2 separate regions of the Homo sapiens genome follow, and region 2 is linked to region 1. The links are contacts of gene promoters, found by promoter capture Hi-C in human tissues and cell types (Jung and others, 2019). All regions are on one chromosome and are shown on one strand. Each heading gives the region's core, a stretch centred on a gene start or on the middle of the fragment in contact. The rest is flanking DNA. Distances are from core to core; before and after follow the strand shown.

Region 1 (3,884 bases), core at 598-3,097:
TGTACCATCACCAAGGTTTAAGAACTAGGACTTTTGCCTCAACTTCAGGCAACCCCGAACTAGGTTCTTTTTTGCATGTGAACAACAGGAAAAGAAAGATGTTTCTCATAACAAAAATGATCAGGTACTTAGTTAATGTTGCAGTAATCATTTCAGTAAAGAATTATCTTTATCACTTGAGCAGTGGAATGATTTTGAGTATCTTGATAGAGGTTACTAGTTCTTTTAAAACACTGTTGGTCATGTCTGATTTGATTCTAGGTACTTGCTCGGGAATCTAATTCCCAATTATATAACATTGTTCCTTTAGGACAAAGTTTAGGAAAGTATACTTTGTCTAATGGCACAGTTTCAAAAAATAGATCTTAGAGGTAGGGAAAAAATACTGCTATCACCCAGTTGCTGAATATATAAGGTACTGGAGGGAGTACAAAGAGGGCAGCAAGTACCTACATTGTTGTGATGGGAAGAGGGAACACCAGTGGATGGGTGCTCCTTATAGTATGGCACTGGCATCCTGTACCTCATATGTCCCTGTCATCCACGGTCTTAGTCTCTGCTGTCACTCAGCTCTGTTCCTGTCTTAAACACCAACATGCTATGCTTTTAACTCTTTTGCCACCTGCCTTTGCTCTGCTTGTTCTTCCAGTGACAAATGCATGAGCCACTTTTCAGGAGGTGAAATTATTAAAACTCTTGAGGATGTGACCTATTTCACATTGAGAAATAAGTTGCCCTGAATGGAGTAACCATTTTTCCTGTAAGTTTGCAAAAGAGGCAGCAGTTGTGACACTGTGGAAGGAGATAGAAAAATTCCTTGCCATGAGGGAATGTCTAAATTTGTCCTGCGGGGAGGATGACTACAGGCAGAAATAGTGAGGTGAGGCAGGAACATAAGAGGGGTTTTCTTGATTTAGTTTGAATGTATCTAAGTGACAAAAAGGAGCATCTGAAGAACTTGGATTCTTTCATTAGCACCTCCTTTTGGTCCATTGGCCTATTCAACAAATCTATAAATCCTTCAAGTATCACACTAACTTTCAGCTCAGTGTGCTGCGGGCTCTAGACCAAAGATTCCTCCTGTAAGATTACAGAGGTTATTCCCTTTGTAAAGTAACATGATTCTCTTTCTCTTTCATTTTCAGGGAAGCAGAGACTTTCAAGGAACAAGGAAATGCATACTATGCCAAGAAAGATTACAATGAAGCTTATAATTATTATACAAAAGCCATAGGTGAGAAAGAACTGATACTTACGCTAGAAAACATTTACTTGCCAAATATTATTAAAAGTAGCTGCCAAGTCCTGGTGGCTCACGCCTGTAATCCCAGCACTTTGGGAGGCCAAAGCAGGAGGATCACTTTAGATCAGGGGTTTCAGACCACTCTGGCCAACATGACGAAACCCCGTCTCTACTGAAAATACAAAAATTAGCTGGGCCTGGTGGCGGGCACCTGTAATCCCAGCTACTTGGGAGGCTGAGGCAGGAGAATTGCCTGAACTCGGGAGGTAGAGGTTGCAATGAGCCAAGATTGTGCCACTGCACTCCAACCTGGGCAACAAAGCAAGACTTCATCTCAAAAAGATAAAAAAAATAGGCCAGGCTCAGTGGCTCATGCCTGTAATCCCAGCACTTTGGGAGGCCAAAGCAGGCGGATCACTTTAGATCAGGGGTTTCAGACCACTCTGGCCAACATGACGAAACCCTGTCTCTACTAAAAATACAAAAATTAGCTGGGCCTGGTGGCGGGCACCTGTAATCCCAGCTACTTGGGAGGCTGAGGCAGGAGAATTGCCTGAACTCGGGAGGTAGAAGTTGCAGTGAGCCAAGATTGTGCCACTGCACTCCAACCTGGGCAACAAAGCAAGACTTCATCTCAAAAAGATAAAAAAAATAGGCCAGGCTCAGTGGCTCACGCCTATAATCCCAGCACTTTGGAAGGCCAAGGCAGGCAGATCACCTAAAGTCAGGAGTTTGAGACCGGCCTGGCTAACATGGTGAAACCCTGTCTCTACAAAATACAAAAATTTGCTGGGTGTGGTGGTGCGTGCCTGTAATCCCAGCTACTAGGGAGGCTGAGGCAGGAGAATCGCTTGAACCCAGGAGGTGGAGGTTGCAGTGAGCTGAGATCCTGCCGTTGCACTCCAGCCTGGGGGACGACCAAAGAACTCCATCTCAAAAATTAAATTAAAAAAAATTGAGAAAAGTAGCTTCTCTCTGAGAAGTAGCCTTTTGCCCAATGGGTTGATAACTGTTACTGTATGAACTCCTTCAGGCTTAATGATCTCATGAAGGCCAGGCGTGGTGACTCATGCCTGTAATCCCAGCATTTTGGGAGGCCGAGGCGGGCGGATCACCTGAGGTCAGGAGTTCTTCTCCCCTAATTTGCTTACCCCAACTCAACATGCACATTTCATTTCAGCCTGGCCTGTTAACATGGTGAAACCCTGTCTCTAAAGATACAAAAATTAGCCAGGTGTGGTGGGCGCTTGTAATCCCAGCTACTCGGGAGGCTGAGGCAGGAGAATTGCTTGAACCTGGGAGGCAGAGGTTGTAGTGAGCCAAGATCACGTCGCTGCACTCCAGCCTGGGCAACAAGCGCGAATCTCCGTCTCAAAAAAAAAAACAAACTCATGAATGATAACTTTTTTCTTTTTCTTTTCTTTTTTTTTAACTCTTTAAATTTTTTAAAATAGAGACAGGGTCTTACCATGTTGCCCCGGCTGGTCTCAAACTCCTGGGCTCAAGCGATCCTCCTACCTTGGCCTCCCAAAGTGCTAGAATTACAGGGATGTGCCACCATCCCCAGCTGTGATAACTTCTTCTAACTGGGGTGGGTAGTTTTTCTTTTGATAAATTAAAGGCAATTCCAGAAATACTGAATGTTATGGCAAAACCCACCTAAATACATTTCAGTCATTGTCAATTCATTTACTACCTTAGAAAATGGCCTTTGTACATAAAAGAAGTCTTAGTTATCTCCATGCTTAATTTGCCAGCATACTTTAATCCCGTGTCAGCATTCTTCTCACCTAATTTGCTTACCCCAGCTCAACATGCACATTTCATTTTAATGTCTCATTATACAAAACAGTTCATTAAGATTAATAAGCTGCCTCTCTCCTCAAAAGATAATCACTACACTTCAAAGCCGTACCTTGTTTTGTTTTAAAACTGATTGTATCCTTGCTGCTGTCCATTTGCACAAGCAGTCAGAAATTTGGATGCAGCCTATTTATTTATTGTTGAGACAGTGTCACTGTCACCCAGGCTGGAGTGTAGTGGCACAATCTTGGCTTATTGCAACCTTCACCTCCTAGTTTCAAGCGATTTTCATGCCTTAGCCACCTGAGTAGCTGGGATTGCAGGTGTGTGCCACCATGCTTGGCTAATTTATTTGTATTTTAGCAGAGACAGCGTTTTGCCATGTTGGCCAGGCTGGTCTCAAAACTCCTGGCCCCAAGTGATCTGCCCACCTCGGCCTCCCAAAGTGCTGAGATTATAGGTGTGAGCCACTGTGCTGGCTGTGGCATTCTAAAGAGAGTGTGTCAGGGCTGGGTGCAATAGCTCACTCCTGTAATCCCAACGCTTTTGGAGGCTGAGGCAGATGGATCACTTGAGGCCAGGAGTTCAAGACCAGCCTGGCCAACGCGGCAAAACCCCATCTCAACAAAAAATACAAAAATTAGCTGGATGTGGTGGCGTGTGCCTGTGGTCCCAGCCACTTAGGAGGCTGAGGTAGGAAGATGGTTTGAGCCCAGGAGGCGGAGGATGCAGTGAGCAGAGATCATACCACTGCAGTCCAGCGTGGGCAACAGAGCCAGACTGTGCCTCAAATAAATAAATAAAAATACAGAAATTAGCCAGGCGTGGTGGCACATGC
Region 2 (4,304 bases), core at 18-2,517, 190 kb after region 1:
CTTGGAGTTTGTAGGCTTACCCCAATATATGCCTGCCTCTAAAGTCATGGCCACTAATTTCCTGTGGGCTGAGTTGTGTGTTTCAGAGGAGGGTCTAAGAAACACTGACTTCTTTCAGTGTGCTGTGGGGTCTGTGTGTAACTGGGACCCTAGATTTACCCCTGAGGCTGGCATACAGCCCTGCCCTGTCCCCGCTAACAAAAGTGGACTTGCTGGGGCAGACCAAAGGCCTGGGTCAGACCAGGAGGCCACCTTACAAACCCCAAGGCTGGCAAAAATGGGCGGCCTGTGCCTCTGGCCTGGTGTACCTAAAATGGAGAGAGATGAGGGTTCCAGGAGAACCAGAGAGGGAGGAATGAAATTCCTCCAAGGAGCCCAGGGTGGCATGTCCGACTGTGTGACACGTAGACAGGGCCTCCGCAGGGAGCCACGCGCTACCCCCAGGTCCAGCCGGCTGTCTTCTTATAATACCCACCAGCCTTTTTCCCTGCCCACCAGCCGCTGAAAACTCCCACCCCCTCCAAAAAAAAGTTCTATTCCCTCTTCTCTGACCACAAAGGCACTGAAAACAGTGGAACCAGAAGGGGAGTCAGGGTGGGTGGAAAGGTACGGGGTCCAGGCTGATAGACCATCCCAGGGTTCTTAAGCAGCAGGGACCACCCCCTTCCCCCCAACACTGTAGATCAGAACACCCCTCTCCATCAGGTCATTACATACAGCCCTGGTAACTACACAAGGCAGTTCACCTTGATTATCGAGTCCTTTCCGGGATGTGGAGAGCTTGTGAGAAAGAAATGGGATCCTTTGAGAAGTGAGGGTTTGGAAGTGGGGGCAGGAGGGTATCTTTGGGGAGATGGGTGTCTGGGAGGCCCCAGGGGTGCTGTCTAGGGTTAGAGTATTGGGATGCAGAGCTTAAAAGAGGCAACAAGGAAACAGGACCCCGGGTTCAGGGGACGGAGTGGTGAATCCGGGGGCGCCCAACCGGGGTTACCTTGAATCAAACTTCTTGCCATCTTCAAAAGTGCCGTTGTAGTGGTAGCGCACAAAATCCCCCATCTGCACTTCCCGGGGACAGGCCCTGGGGATGTGGTACCTCTCGATGACCACATCTTCCAGGGGGCCCCCGGCCGGGCTGGCGCGGCCCAGCCCCCTCCCCACGGCCTGCACCACCAGTAGCAGCAACTGCAGCAGGGGGAGCCGGAGGAGGCTGTGGCTGGGGGGGCCCGCGGGGAACATGGTGCCTGGAGTTGGGACCGCCGGCAGTGAGGGCGAGCGAGGGAGTCGCCACCAACCTCCTTCCCCCCGCCTCCCAGAACTGGCTCCCCCTCTTCCTGTCCTCTTTCCCTACCCCCGCCCTGGCTGGTCCACGTGGAATGGGGGCTGGGAAGACTGAGCTGGCCTGGCCGGGAGGAGCGGGGGAGGGGGTTGCAATAGGAGGAGGGGGCCAGGCTGAGTGTGTTAGAGTCTGAGGGAGGCACTACAAAGAACTCTAGGTTCCCCCTCCCCCCATCTCCATCCCTGGCTGCGAGACCTGGGGCCTGGCCAGGGAGAGAGGCTCGGGAAAGATGAGAACTCTGAGTGGACACCAAAGGAAAAAAAAAAAAAAAAGTTCAATGACTTTTTCCGGAGCCCCCGGGTCCTAAAGCCGGGCGGAGATGAACCTTGCTTCTTTCGCGGGCACTTCGAATTCTAGTCCCCTCCAGGTGGGTGGTGAAGCCGCGGAGTGTGAGAGGCATCTCCGTGCTCATCCGTGACCCCAGCTGTACTCCAAGGGAAGGCATCTCCAGGGAAGAGCAGCTTGGTCCCGCAAAAGCTGGACTGAAAGAAGGACTTTGTGACTTGGGATGTGACGGGCACGGAGATGGAGTGGGGGGTGGTGGCAGCGCAAGGTGTGCAGGTGACAGCAGGTGTGTGCCTCCGACGTGGGCGGGGGAGACACTCGGAGGGTGCAGGAGGGCGCAGCGACGGAAGGCCCGGCTCCAGGGCTTCCTTCTCGTATGGGCAGCGCAGAGGAGGCGGCCCTCACTCAGTGTCCTGATCTCAGGCGGGGGCACTGTTTGCATGGGGAGGGGCTTCCTGGGCTTCCCATCTCTGGCGGGAAGCGCTCCCCGACGCATTCTCTACCTAGGGGACACCCCCAAGGCAGGAGCCCGGGCCGACGGAGAGGACTTAACGACACTATCGGACCCTCTGGGAAAAGAGGGGAGACGTCGTGACCCAGGCCCCGCCCCACCTTGCCGCCTCGTGCCCGGCGCTAAGACCCAGCGGGCGCGCCGCCCGCCCGGGGCCCGGCCCTGTCCCCTTCCGTCCGCGGGGCAGCCAGCTCAGCTCCGGAGAGCCGGCGGCGCGGCGGGCATGGCTCGGGTGGCGTGGGGGCTGCTGTGGTTGCTGCTGGGCAGCGCCGGGGCGCAGTACGAGAAGTACAGCTTCCGGGGCTTCCCGCCCGAGGACCTGATGCCGCTGGCCGCGGCGTACGGGCACGCTCTGGAGCAGTACGAGGGAGAGAGCTGGCGCGAGAGCGCGCGCTACCTGGAGGCGGCGCTGCGGCTGCACCGGCTCCTGCGCGACAGCGAGGCCTTCTGCCACGCCAACTGCAGCGGCCCCGCGCCCGCGGCCAAGCCCGATCCCGACGGCGGCCGCGCAGACGAGTGGGCCTGCGAGCTGCGGCTCTTCGGCCGCGTCCTGGAGCGAGCCGCCTGCCTGCGGCGCTGCAAGCGGACGCTGCCCGCCTTCCAGGTGCCCTACCCGCCGCGGCAGCTGCTGCGTGACTTCCAGAGCCGCCTGCCCTACCAGTACCTGCACTACGCGCTGTTCAAGGTGGGAGCCCGCCCCCACCCGGGGACCTGTCTCGGGCTGGGCGTCGTGGCTCCCCACAGATCGGTCGAAGGAGCGTTATCTTCACCCAAGGCACGAAGCCCGCCGTGCGCTCGGGGCCGCGAGCTCCGGTCTTGCTGACCCGCTCCCCCACCCCCTACCCCCCGACCAGGCTAACCGGCTGGAGAAGGCGGTGGCGGCGGCCTACACCTTCCTCCAGAGGAACCCGAAGCACGAGCTGACCGCCAAGTATCTCAACTACTATCAGGGGATGCTGGACGTCGCCGACGAGTCCCTCACGGACCTAGAGGCCCAGCCCTACGAGGTGGGGTGGAGGGTCAGGAGGAGGCTTGTAGAGGAGGGCTAGTAGAGGAGGGGAGATGTTGGGGGCGCCCTGACTCCCCCTGCCACGCCCCTTCCAGGCCGTGTTCCTCCGGGCTGTGAAGCTCTACAACAGCGGGGATTTCCGCAGCAGCACGGAGGACATGGAGCGGGCCTTGTCAGAGTACCTGGCAGTCTTTGCCCGGTGCCTGGCCGGCTGTGAAGGGGCCCATGAGCAGGTGGACTTCAAGGACTTCTACCCGGCCATAGCAGGTATCTGCCACCCAGACCACGGTGGGCGGTCCTCTCACCCACAGGGCCCGGTAAGGCAGATGTCCCCTTCATGCACGTGGAGCACTGCGAATGCGGAGGAGCCAGCCGGGAGGAAGGCCTTGTCTGTTGAGAAAGACGCTGGGTGCAGGGGCCCCAGCTGGGAGTGTCCAAGGGGCTGGATCAGTGAGTAGAGGCAGTGACATCCCTAAAGGGTTTGGGAAGCTTGGGTTCATAGGCCTTCCAGGCAGAGGGCAGTGCAGATGCAAAGGTGCAGCGGTGAGAAGTAACCCAGCAGATGTGTGCAGAAAGCAGTTGATAACCAGAAATTACACCTAGTCTTGGGATCTCTAACCCTGGGGTCCCTCGAGCAGGGGCAGAAAGGACTGTACTTGGCCAGGTGTGGTGGCTCACACCTGTAATCTCAGCACTCTGGGAGGCCGAGGCAGGCAGATCACGAGGTCAGGAGTTCAAGACCAGCCTGACCAACATGGTGAAACCCCGTCTCTACTGAAAGTACAAAAATTAGCTGGTCGTGGTGGCGGGCACCTGTAATCCCAGCTACTCGGGAGGCTGAGGCAGGAGAATCGCTTGAACCTGGGAGGCGGAGGTTGCATTGAGCCCAGATCGCGCCACTGCACTCCAGCCTGGTCGACAGGGCGAGACTCTGTCTCAAAAAAAAAAAAAAAAAAAAAAGACTGTCCTTTAGCTTCTCTGTTTGGACTTCTGCCCCATTTCTGGACCTCACCTGCTGCTCTCCCAGAATGCCCTGGCTCCCTCTGGCTTGGGGTGGTGGTTGAGTGGCAGGGGTGGTGAGTCAGCCCAGCCCACAGTCATCTTCCTCACCATCACTTGTCATATAGTATGCCAAGCACTTTACAGACATTCTCTCCTGTGAT

Evidence for each region. The method cuts DNA at HindIII sites, captures the fragments that hold promoters and counts their contacts. A contact is called where the count stands out against the background at its distance.
Region 2: the fragment with the promoter of FKBP10 here is called in contact with a fragment that was not itself captured in region 1 in 2 of the 25 tissues and cell types used here (H1 embryonic stem cells and IMR-90 fibroblasts).

What each region holds. Positions count from the first base shown.
Region 1 is chr17:41,997,832-42,001,715 of GRCh38, reverse strand. DNAJC7 (DnaJ heat shock protein family (Hsp40) member C7) reads left to right here. Exons shown (of 14, transcript NM_003315.4): 2 at 1,146-1,234. Among named protein-coding and RNA genes, the nearest start is that of DNAJC7, 18 kb to the left of the region's middle. The HindIII fragment of the contact is 6,309 bases long and covers 1-3,884 here.
Region 2 is chr17:41,809,967-41,814,270 of GRCh38, reverse strand. It overlaps FKBP10 (FKBP prolyl isomerase 10), which reads right to left and starts at 1,267. Exons shown (of 10, transcript NM_021939.4): 1 at 992-1,267. The coding sequence starts at 1,236. P3H4 (prolyl 3-hydroxylase family member 4 (inactive)) reads left to right here and starts at 2,322. Exons shown (of 8, transcript NM_006455.3): 1 at 2,322-2,817; 2 at 2,987-3,139; 3 at 3,237-3,408. The coding sequence starts at 2,356. RefSeq lists an enhancer at 1,953-2,062 and a silencer at 2,203-2,692. The HindIII fragment of the contact is 16,914 bases long and covers 1-4,304 here.